Regions from separate parts of the Homo sapiens genome. Here regions 1 and 2 are each linked to region 3. The links are contacts of gene promoters, found by promoter capture Hi-C in blood cells and fetal thymus (Javierre and others, 2016). All regions are on one chromosome and are shown on one strand. The core of a region is centred on a gene start or on the middle of the fragment in contact, and the rest is flanking DNA. Distances in the headings are between cores, read along the strand shown.

Evidence for each region. Contacts are between HindIII fragments. The CHiCAGO score rates a contact against its expected background, and 5 or more counts as called.
Region 1: a contact is called between a fragment that was not itself captured here and the fragment with the promoter of SLC27A5 in region 3, in 3 of 17 cell types (M1 macrophages, total CD4 T cells and total B cells). The highest score is 6.6, in M1 macrophages.
Region 2: a contact is called between the fragment with the promoter of VN1R1 here and the fragment with the promoter of SLC27A5 in region 3, in 1 of 17 cell types (total CD4 T cells). The highest score is 6.3, in total CD4 T cells.

The regions. Positions count from the first base shown.
Region 1 is chr19:57,471,937-57,475,943 of GRCh38, reverse strand. ZNF772 (zinc finger protein 772) reads left to right here. Exons shown (of 4, transcript NM_001144068.2): 3 at 158-284; 4 at 1,523-4,007. The coding sequence ends at 2,670. Among named protein-coding and RNA genes, the nearest start is that of ZNF772, 3.6 kb to the left of the region's middle. The HindIII fragment of the contact is 6,834 bases long and covers 1-4,007 here.
Region 2 is chr19:57,455,124-57,458,673 of GRCh38, reverse strand. VN1R1 (vomeronasal 1 receptor 1) reads left to right here and starts at 1,534. Exons shown (of 1, transcript NM_020633.4): 1 at 1,534-3,550. The coding sequence starts at 2,188. The coding sequence ends at 3,249. The HindIII fragment of the contact is 5,648 bases long and covers 1,101-3,550 here.
Region 3 is chr19:58,510,416-58,514,368 of GRCh38, reverse strand. SLC27A5 (solute carrier family 27 member 5) reads left to right here and starts at 2,377. Exons shown (of 10, transcript NM_012254.3): 1 at 2,377-3,101; 2 at 3,439-3,648. The coding sequence starts at 2,414. It overlaps LOC105372485 (a long non-coding RNA gene), which reads right to left. Exons shown (of 2, transcript XR_001754024.2): 2 at 3,246-3,953. ZBTB45 (zinc finger and BTB domain containing 45) reads left to right here. Exons shown (of 3, transcript NM_001316979.2): 3 at 59-839. The coding sequence ends at 315. RefSeq lists silencers at 106-305, 326-375 and an enhancer at 2,160-2,674. The HindIII fragment of the contact is 7,866 bases long and covers 1-3,953 here.

The sequences.
Region 1 (4,007 bases), core at 891-3,390, 1.0 Mb after region 3:
CATGAGGCGAGAGAAGACACCAATGACATCTGGTCCTGATATTTCCTGAGTTGAGGAGTTAGGTAGGAGGGTGTACAGGAGGGAGATGTGTGGGGGCACGGATGGGGGTTCTTGGGAGAGATGCTGCTCATGGACTTGGCTCTCCTGATTGTGGCAGGGGCAGGTGAACTTTGAGGACGTGTTCGTGTACTTCTCCCAGGAGGAGTGGGTGCTCCTTGATGAGGCTCAGAGGCTCCTGTACCGTGATGTGATGCTGGAGAACTTTGCACTTATGGCCTCTCTGGGTAAGGCCGTCACATCCACCCCAGTGACTTGGACTGGGTCCTGCCCTTCCCCTTTTTTTCAGGGCATCTTTGTCCTTCCTACATCAGAGCCGTGGACACTGTCTCATTTCTTAGTGCCTGGAGTAGGTTCTGTGAGTGCTGGGCTTGGGCTGTTTGCACTCCTACTTTCTCCTTTTGAGCATTCCCAGCGCTTGCTGTCTCAGAGCCTTGCAGGCATGGATTCAGGAGTTATGCATTGTATTGTCAGCCCAGTGGGTCATATCCATCTTGTCCTTTCCCTGTCTGAATTCCTCTGTCTGTATCCATGACACCTCTGTGCCTGGGATTCTGCGCTCTTCCTTTAGCTGACATTTCCTGTGGCCTGCCTATGTCAGGAATTGTAGGGACCATTATGGTCGCTACTTGCTAGGACCACTGCACTATTCCTGCAAGACCTTACTCTGAGATTATTTTAATAATATTTAGTTTTCTATATGGGTTACCCAGACCAGTGCTGTTCTATCTTTCCCTTAGGACATACATCTTTCATGTCCCACATAGTTGCCTCACTGGTGATGGGTAGTGAGCCCTGGGTACCTGACTGGGTGGACATGACCCTAGCTGTTGCCACAGAGACTCCAGGTGGGAGTGACCCTGGTGAGTAGGAGCTGGGGAAAGGTGTGATGTCAGGGCTGGGTTCATATCATTCCATAGCCTCTTTGTGCCTACAGTTGTATTAGTGCTAAGGCCACTGGCCTTTCATACTCTGGCCTTTGGCCTCTGGATGTTCCATACCTCTGCCTTCATGTCTCACCTGTTCCTCTCCATGGCTTGTTCTACAGTGCCTTCCAGCATTGGCCTGTACTTAGTGTTTCATGAGATGTGTAGCCCAAATAGTCCTTAAACACCAACTACTGAGTAGCAATTTGATTTTCTTTGGTATGGACCATAACCTTCTGCACAACTCTCACCTGTCCCCAGCAGCCAAGAAAATCTGATTGTGAATGACTTTGAGACCTGCCTCTTTTTTGTGCTGTACCCCACATCTTTGTCCTCTCCCAGTTGAGGCCTTCTCCATTCTATGACATTTAGATGCCAACTACCGTATAGTACACATTTGCTGAACTTGAGTTTGGACCCTTGTCCTAACAACAGTCCTATGACCTTGGTCTTAGTTGTGTTAGACACATATTTGTAGTGAGGCTTCCCCTCTTCCACCTGTGTCAATTTGTACTTCACCAGCATTTCTCTGCTTTCAGGTTGTTGGCATGGAATGGAGGATGAAGAGATACCTTTTGAGCAGAGCTTTTCTATAGGAATGTCACAGATCAGGATTCCCAAGGGAGGTCCTTCTACTCAGAAGGCTTACCCCTGTGGGACATGTGGCCTGGTCTTAAAAGACATTTTGCACTTGGCTGAGCACCAGGAAACACACCCAGGGCAGAAACCATACATGTGTGTGCTGTGTGGGAAACAGTTCTGCTTCAGTGCAAACCTTCACCAGCACCAGAAGCAGCACAGTGGAGAGAAACCCTTTAGAAGTGATAAGAGCAGGCCCTTTCTTCTGAACAACTGTGCTGTGCAATCAATGGAGATGTCTTTTGTGACAGGGGAGGCTTGTAAGGACTTCCTAGCCAGCTCAAGCATTTTCGAGCACCATGCCCCTCACAATGAGTGGAAGCCACACAGCAACACCAAGTGTGAGGAGGCCTCTCACTGTGGAAAAAGGCATTACAAATGCAGTGAATGTGGGAAAACCTTCAGCCGCAAAGACTCACTTGTTCAACACCAGAGAGTCCACACTGGAGAAAGGCCTTATGAGTGCGGTGAATGTGGGAAAACCTTTAGCCGCAAACCCATACTTGCTCAGCACCAGAGAATCCACACTGGAGAAATGCCTTATGAGTGTGGCATATGTGGGAAAGTTTTTAATCATAGCTCTAACCTTATTGTACATCAAAGAGTACACACTGGAGCAAGGCCTTACAAGTGCAGTGAATGTGGGAAAGCCTATAGTCACAAATCTACACTTGTTCAGCATGAGAGTATCCATACTGGAGAAAGGCCATATGAGTGCAGCGAATGTGGAAAATACTTTGGTCACAAATACAGACTCATTAAACATTGGAGTGTTCATACTGGAGCAAGGCCTTATGAGTGCATCGCATGTGGGAAGTTCTTTAGCCAAAGCTCTGACCTTATTGCACATCAAAGAGTTCATAATGGTGAAAAGCCTTATGTGTGCAGTGAATGTGGAAAAGCCTTTAGCCACAAACATGTACTTGTTCAGCATCATAGAATTCACACTGGAGAAAGGCCATATAAGTGCAGTGAATGTGGGAAGGCCTTCAGGCAGAGGGCTTCCCTCATCCGCCACTGGAAAATTCACACTGGAGAAAGGCCTTAGGATGGGAGATAATTCCGTTTCCTTGTTCAACATAATAACTGACATCAGAGAGAAGCTCCAAGCATAGCCTTTATGTGTAGCCGACAGCCAGAAGTAGAACTTTATACACTCAAACACTCACCCTGGGGAGGTTCTTCCGAGTGCCAGCTATATGGGAAGCCTTCTGGAGCTATGCTGAATTTTCTAGACTCTTGCTGGAATTTCGTCAAGGCAGTGCCTGTTAGAAGCCATCTGTCTTTGTGCTGGAAGAGTCCTGCCTTGTGCCAAAGTAACCCCAATGTGTTTCAAAAGACAGACCTCTGTACTATTCCCTTCCCTGGAGGGAATCATCAGTAGCCTGAGGCCATCAAGGATTCTCACTTTTTTTCTGCCCCACTACTGGTTTAAGCATGAGCATGACCCAGTTTTAGCCAGAAAAATGGGAGCTTTGTTCTGCTGACCACTGGCAGAGGTTTCCCTTCATGGATATAGTTGATCTCACATGGCACTTGGGACGAATTTTTCTAGCCTTCAAGACACCTGACCTGAAATTGGCTGCCTCATATTCTGGTTTTGCAACAAATGCCTTAATTTTTAGACTATCTGAAATCTTGAGGATTCTGTTCGCTTTGTGGGTTGGGTTGAGAACAGAATTGAGCTAAGCCAGTATGAAGGGAAGAACAGCTTTTGTGAGAGCTCCAACTATCTGTATCTCTGAAGTGATAGTAGGATGGCAAAGACTAGCTCTTATGCTAGTGTCAAGCTAACTTACTTGACTGCTTCAGCTCTCCTAGGAAAGAATGCCAGTCTTTGTAGGCCTAATCTTTTGGTCTATATGTTAAGATTTTTTGTGTAATTGAGGTCACCCTAAGCAGTGGGCATTTGTTGTGATAATCTCTAATGTGTCTGGGAGCAACATGAATTACGTCCCTTGTTCCCAGAAGATACTTCATATTCCCAAGGCTTCTTGAGGAGAATTTGAACTCAGTGGACATGTCAAGATCTCTGAAGTCTATTTTTCAGTAGGCAGTTGATATTGGCTGTCCTCCAGAAGGCCCAGGTAGGAATCATAGTTGGTGCAGAAACCCAGATTAATAAAGGAATGAGAAAACTGCAGCAAACTATAGGGAATATGACCCTTCTAAAGGTACATCCACATGTGTTTCCATTACTCTGGCTCCATTATGAGGGTTTACAGAAATATTTCCATACCTGTGTCTCTTATGGCTAAGGTTACTGTCCAGAAGTCAGTCTAAACATTTTTGCAATAAACTGCACATATTTATAGTGTACCATTTGATAAGTTTTGATACATGTTGGCACTTCTCAAACCAAAAGTTTCCTGATTCCTTTTATAT
Region 2 (3,550 bases), core at 285-2,784, 1.1 Mb after region 3:
TTATACAACTAGGACAATGGAGCAAAATAAGAGATTAAAGCAAAGAATCAGGAACTATCTTGAAAATAAATGATGAGTTCATATAAATAGGAAAAACATTTGTCAACAAGTGGTTTGTGGGAATCTAAAAGGTTTTCATACCTCAGAGCCTGAGTTTTTTTTTTTTTTTTTTGAGACCGAGTTTCACTCTTGTTGCTCAGGCTGGAGTGCAATGGCATGATCTCGGCTCACTGCAACCTCCGCCTCTGGGGTTCAAACGATTCTCCTGCCTCAGCCTCCCGAGTAGCTGGGATTACAGGCATGCGCCACCACCTCTGACTAATTTTTGTATTTTTAGTAGAGACGGGGTTTCTCCCTGTTGGTCAGGCTGGTCTCGAACTCCCGACCTCAGCTGATCCACCAGCCTCGGCCTCCCAAACTGCTGGGATTACAGGCGTGAGCCACCTCTCGCCTGAGAATCTTGATACTGCTGTGTTATTGATTGCTCCACCCCTAAAGAGATGTAGTTATTCATGGGAGAAAATACCTCATAATTTTCCCTGATGATAGCAATTCCATAGAGACACCAAAAGAATCTAAATTATGGCCGGGCGAGGTGGCTCATCCCTGTAATCCCAGCACTTTGGGAGGCCGAGGCGGGCGGATCACGAGGTCAGGAGATCGAGACCATCCTGGCTAACACGGTGCAACCCCGTCTCTACTAAACACACACACACACACACACACACACACACACACACTAGCCGGGCGTGGTGGTGGGCGCCTGTAGTCCCAGCTACTCAGGAGGCTGAGGCAGGAGAATGGCGTGAACCCAGGAGGCTTCAGCCTCCCGAGTAGCTGGGACTACAGGCACGCACCACAACACCCAGCTAATTTTTGTATTTTTAGTAGAGACGGGGTTTCACCATGTTGGCCAGGATGGTCTCCATCTCCTGACCTTGTAATCCACCCGCCTCAGCCTCCCAAAGTGCTGAGATTACAAGCGTGAGCCACCGTGCCTGGCCGCAGTTACTATTTCTTTTGTGATTGATATATATGAATATTGTGCAATGAAATTCCCTCCCAATTGAATTATCTTTCCCTAAAAATAAACCCAAGCTTTCTGGAACATATTGAATTTCCTATTTAACAAGTTTTAAGGATATCTTAGGTGTTTCTGGGATTAGTATTTATTTTCAGGATCTTTTGCATTTACTTGTGAGAAATGGCATTGAGATAAAAATGTGTGGGCTCAAGGTGGTCATGGTTATTTCTACGGAGTCAATTCACAATCTCTAGACCTGTCCGGTGGAAAATAACAGAAATATATGTGCTTAAAATAAAATATACCATGATGCAATGTTGATTGTTCCAAAAATTATAGTTTTTAAAAATTCTTCAAGTTAGCATTTGTACTGTGCTGAAGGCCTTGTTACCAATTGTATTGTAGCGTTTTTTTAATTTCTTTTTTTTTTTTTTTTGAGACAGAGTCTCGCTCTGTCGCCCAGGCTGGAGGGCAATGGTTTGATTTCAGCTCACTGCAACCTCTGCCTCCCAGGTTCAAGCGATTCTCCTGCCTCAGCCTCCCGAGTAGCTGGGACTAGCACGCGCCGCCATGCCCGGCTAATTTTTGTATTATTAGTATTTTGTATTATTAGTAGAGACAGGGTTTCACCATGTTGGCCAGGATGGTCTCCATCTTGGCCTCCCGAAGTGCTGGAATTACAGGTGTGAGCCACTGCACCCGGCCTAAAATTTGTTTCAATGCATCAATAACAATGGTGTTTACTAAAATATTAGTGTGGAAAAGGTTTTATGGTGTATTATTTTTGCTTTTCATATCTCCAGGCTACTTAATTGAAGGTTTTATTGAAATAAGTGTAGACTCACAAGCAGTCATAAGAAATAATACAGAAAAAGCCCTGTCCATATTACCCAGGGTTCCGTCATGATTACATTTTGCAAACTATAGTATAATATCACTCTAATGATATTGACTCTTCTGTGTTCTGTTTTTATATATTTCCCTAGTTTTGCTTGTATTTACTTGTTGCATGTGTGTAAGCCCTGAGTTTTATAGGTTTGATTTGTGGATCTGTTGTGCGGTTGAGCCCTCATTCATTCACCTGCTTCTCTGCAGTTGGACACACAAGCAATTGCCTTTGCACGAACAGGGACAATCTTAATTTCTGTTTAAGATGAGAAAATATGGTTGGAGACACATTAAAACTTCTGTCTCCACTGATGACAAGATACTTCTTTCTGCTTTTTTATTCTACTGATTCTTCAGACCTCAATGAAAATCAACATCCCCTAGATTTTGATGAAATGGCTTTTGGAAAAGTAAAATCAGGGATTAGCTTCCTCATTCAGACTGGAGTTGGGATCCTGGGAAATTCCTTTCTCCTTTGTTTTTATAACTTAATTTTGTTCACTGGACACAAGCTGAGACCCACGGACTTGATTCTCAGCCAACTGGCCTTGGCTAACTCCATGGTCCTTTTCTTTAAAGGGATACCTCAGACAATGGCAGCTTTTGGATTGAAATATTTGCTGAATGACACTGGATGTAAGTTTGTCTTTTATTATCACAGGGTGGGCACAAGAGTTTCCCTCAGCACCATCTGCCTTCTCAATGGATTCCAAGCCATTAAGCTCAACCCCAGTATATGCAGGTGGATGGAGATCAAGATTAGATCCCCAAGGTTTATTGACTTCTGTTGTCTCCTCTGCTGGGCCCCCCATGTCTTGATGAATGCATCTGTTCTTCTATTAGTGAATGGCCCACTGAATAGCAAAAACAGTAGTGCAAAAAACAATTATGGATACTGTTCTTACAAAGCATCAAAGAGATTTAGCTCATTACATGCAGTCTTATATTTTTCCCCTGATTTTATGAGTTTGGGCTTCATGGTCTGGGCCAGTGGCTCCATGGTCTTCTTCCTCTACAGACACAAGCAGCAAGTCCAACACAATCACAGCAACAGACTCTCCTGCAGACCTTCCCAGGAAGCCAGAGCCACACACACCATCATGGTCCTGGTGAGCTCCTTTTTTGTTTTCTATTCAGTCCATAGTTTTCTGACAATTTGGACAACTGTAGTTGCAAACCCAGGCCAGTGGATAGTGACCAACTCTGTGTTGGTCGCCTCATGTTTCCCAGCACGCAGCCCTTTTGTCCTCATCATGAGTGATACTCATATCTCTCAGTTCTGTTTTGCCTGCAGGACAAGGAAAACACTCTTTCCTAATCTGGTTGTCATGCCATGAGTCTTTTCTCTTCATGGAATTCAGCTATTTATCATAACTCTTGCTAAGATTTAGGAAATATTAACTACTAGTTATTTGTGATAGCAACATACACATGGCCAGTAATGCTCTTGTCCAGGAAGATCTAATACCAGAGCTAAAAATGAAAGTCATGGATACTGTTACACAAAGAACACTCTATATAACTGTGTTAAGTCCTTCAGACAAGTTCAGGAAATCAAAAAGTTTAAAAAGGGAATTCTTTAGAGATTTAGGGGAGATTTCTCATTTTTGTACTATGAAGAATCATGGAATGTTTTAA
Region 3 (3,953 bases), core at 1,128-3,627:
TGGGGGCGGGGAGCTGTAGAGTCTGACTTGCGTTCGCGGCCCGCCCTGTCTTCCGCAGGGGAGAAGCCGCACCAGTGCGCCGTGTGCTGGCGATCCTTCTCTCTACGCGACTACCTGCTCAAACACATGGTCACGCACACCGGCGTGCGCGCCTTCCAGTGCGCCGTCTGCGCCAAGCGCTTCACGCAGAAGAGCTCGCTCAACGTGCACATGCGCACTCACCGGCCCGAGCGCGCGCCCTGCCCCGCCTGCGGCAAGGTCTTCTCGCACCGCGCGCTGCTGGAGCGCCACCTGGCGGCGCACCCTGCGCCCTGATGGCGCTGGGGCCTGGCCTCGCCCACGGTGGATCCGGGGCCTCCCGCACAGTCGGCCACGCCCGCTGCGGGACCCGTGGTTCCCGCCACTAGACCACGCTCCCTCCTGAGCGCAGGTCCTCTCTCTCCCTTCACCCTTTCTCCATACCAGGGCCTAAGTCCGCCTTACTCCTCTCCTCCATGTACTTGAACCCTCCAGGTGGTGCCGGGCTGGGGCTGGGGCTGGTTAGACCACTTCTGAGAACTGGACTATTTCCTGCGTAAACCGGGCGCTCAGGCGCTTGGACCCGGCCCAAGATTTGACTCCGGTTCTCACCCCGCCCTCTCCTGGGGTGGTGGTGGGGGCTGGGGGGCCGCTTGCCTGCCCCAGGGTCAGGCTGGGCAAGGTCCCTAGCTCTCTACCCAAGCTGTTACTCCCTCATGGGGCGCCTAAGGAGACTCAAGTGGACCCATCATATATGGGGGCTGGGCCTCGGGACTCTCGCTCTAATAAAGGACTGTAGGCCATGGGGCCTAAACCACGAAGCTGTGAGCACCTGGATCAGTGCGTGCCTTGCCCTCATAGACAAGATGTGAGTGTCAGGGTTCAGCGTCCCTGTTCTTGGGTGGCATCCATGCGGCCCACAGGCTGTCCTGGGCAGGAACAGGATGGTCCACTTTGCCATCTAGGACCTCTATTCTGTAGGGGCTAAGGTGGGCTGCATATATAACCAGCACTTGGTTCTCTTGGATCCCTCAGTCCTGTGGGGAGTAGGATAGGCAGGCCACATCTGAGGTGGGTCTCCGAGAGGGAGGCCACGTGAAAGCCCCATCATACTCCTGGTTGCTGCTGTCCACGACCTTTAAGGCCCCTCCCATAGATCTTCCAGTCAGGCTCTAAGGGTCTTTTGGACTTAAGACTTCCCCTCCCCGACCTTGATGGACATGGCTGAGCACCTTACTTGTGGGGAGCCCAGGGGGATCTTTGGGGCCAGGTTGCACTGAGGGTATATAAGCCCCCATATATCTGCCCTTGGTGCTGGGGGCAAAGTTCAGGGAGGGCTCCGATGGCCGTGTTGGGGGCAGGAAACAGTGAGGGGTGGGATCCTGGGGCTGACTGCTGGGCGGTTGGGGACACCACCCCTACTGGCCAGCCAGTGTCCCAGGCCCCTGCATCCAGCGGAGAGAGCAGCCACTCTTTGCCCCTCTCCTCTTCAGCACAATAGTGGCTCCTAGCCTAGGTGCCCTGCCATAAGGATTTGGAGCTGGTGGAGTGGGGTATGGCCCCAGGCCATACCCCAGCCTGACCTGCCAGGCTCCTAGGCCAATGGCAGCTCCTCTGGGTTCACCTTCTGAGACTGCTTCCTCAAGGTGAGAGGCCAGGGCTTTCATGATCCAACTGTGTGCATCATGGGCTGACTTCAGTCTCCTGAACCCCAGGACTCCATCGTCGTCAAAGCCAGAGGTGGAGCAGAGAGTCAGAGCAAGCACATGGGTGGGGGGCAGAGCTGGGTTTGAATCCAGGCGATGCCAGTGTTCCTGTATTTACTGAGCACTTGCTGTATGCCTGGCAGGAGGGTACGATTCCTCGGATCATGGGACAAGGGGCTTAGCCTGGCTGAGCCCCTCTCCTCAGGGTTTCAGTGGGTGTCACAGGAGGACCTCCCAATGAGGTCCACCTTGCTGTCCTGTTGCTTTTCTGTTTGGCCTGATTGGAGTGTTCCCAAGGGCAGGGATTTCTGTGCTCTGAGTGTCTGGTACCCAGCAGGGATGGGAGGGGAGGCAAGGGAGTTAGATGCCAGCCCTGGAGGGTGGATGGGGCAAGCAGGACAGCAGGAAGGAGGCTAGTGGTGCCCAAGGGGCAGAGACCTGGGAACCCAGAGGCCAGTGATGGAAAGGGTTAGCGCCAGGCAGAGAGGGGCTGGACCCACACACAAGACCAGGCAGAGCAAACAAACGTAGAGGAGAAGGGCTGGGGGCAAAGTCCTGGGGAGAGGACCAGCCACTGTCAGCAGTGCCAGGGCCACCACCCCTGGGGAGGAGCCATTGGGCTACTCTTGAGGGGCCAGAGGTGAGCCTGAACACTCCACAGCTGCTGCTCCTAGGGAGGAGCTGGTACCATGGGTGTCAGGCAACAGTTGGCCTTGCTGCTGCTGCTGCTGCTCCTGCTCTGGGGCCTGGGGCAGCCAGTGTGGCCAGTCGCTGTGGCCTTGACCCTGCGCTGGCTCCTGGGGGATCCCACATGTTGCGTGCTACTTGGGCTGGCCATGTTAGCACGGCCCTGGCTCGGCCCCTGGGTGCCCCATGGGCTGAGCCTGGCAGCTGCGGCCCTGGCACTAACCCTCCTGCCAGCACGGCTGCCCCCAGGACTACGCTGGCTGCCGGCTGATGTGATCTTCTTGGCCAAGATCCTCCACCTGGGCCTGAAGATCAGGGGATGCTTGAGCCGGCAGCCGCCTGACACCTTTGTAGATGCCTTCGAGCGGCGAGCACGAGCGCAGCCTGGCAGGGCACTCTTGGTGTGGACGGGGCCTGGGGCCGGCTCAGTCACCTTTGGTGAGCTGGATGCCCGGGCCTGCCAGGCGGCATGGGCCCTGAAGGCTGAGCTGGGTGACCCTGCGAGCCTGTGTGCCGGGGAGCCTACTGCCCTCCTTGTGCTGGCTTCCCAGGCCGTTCCAGCCCTGTGTATGTGGCTGGGGCTGGCCAAGCTGGGCTGCCCAACAGCCTGGATCAACCCGCATGGCCGGGGGATGCCCCTGGCGCACTCTGTGCTGAGCTCTGGGGCCCGGGTGCTGGTGGTGGACCCAGGTGAGGGCCTTGGAGCCAGTGGAGAATGGAAGGGGGCAAGGGCAGGGACTATAGGACAGGGGTTCTGCTGGGACTGGCAGAGGCCCTTGGTCCCCACCTGCCTACTTTCACAGGCAATTATAATCAAGACTTATGAGCAGAAAGTAGTTCTCAGGTCATCAGAGTTTAATTTTCCCACAATTTGACCAAAAATACTAATGATGGGATTCTTTACCAAACAACATGGATGCTTTTCTCTACTAGCTGCTCCTCTGCCTGCATCTGTGGGTCTCAGATCCCGCCTCGCAACCTCAAAGGTGAGCCTTGCCTCTGTTTCTCCTCTGACCCATCTCTGCAGACCTCCGGGAGAGCCTGGAGGAGATCCTTCCCAAGCTGCAGGCTGAGAACATCCGCTGCTTCTACCTCAGCCATACCTCCCCTACACCAGGGGTGGGGGCTCTGGGGGCTGCCCTGGATGCAGCGCCCTCCCACCCAGTGCCTGCTGACCTGCGTGCTGGGATCACATGGAGAAGCCCTGCCCTCTTCATCTATACCTCGGGGACCACTGGTGAGGGTGCCCATTAGCCCTAGCACCAGCCTCTGAACTCTCAGGCTGACCTGACCCCACACTTGACTTGTGACTCAGTGTTGACCTCTGAAACCACTTTACCCTCTGATTTTGACATTTGTTTTTTGTTTGGCTGTTTTTTTTTTCGAGGCAGAGTCTCGCTCTGTCGCCTAGGCTGGACTGCAGTGGTGCAATCTCGGCTCACTGCAACCTCCACCTCCTGGGTTCAAGCAATTCTCTTGCCTCAGCCTCCTGAGTAGCTGGGATTACAGGCACACACCACTATGCCCAGCTAATTTTTGTAT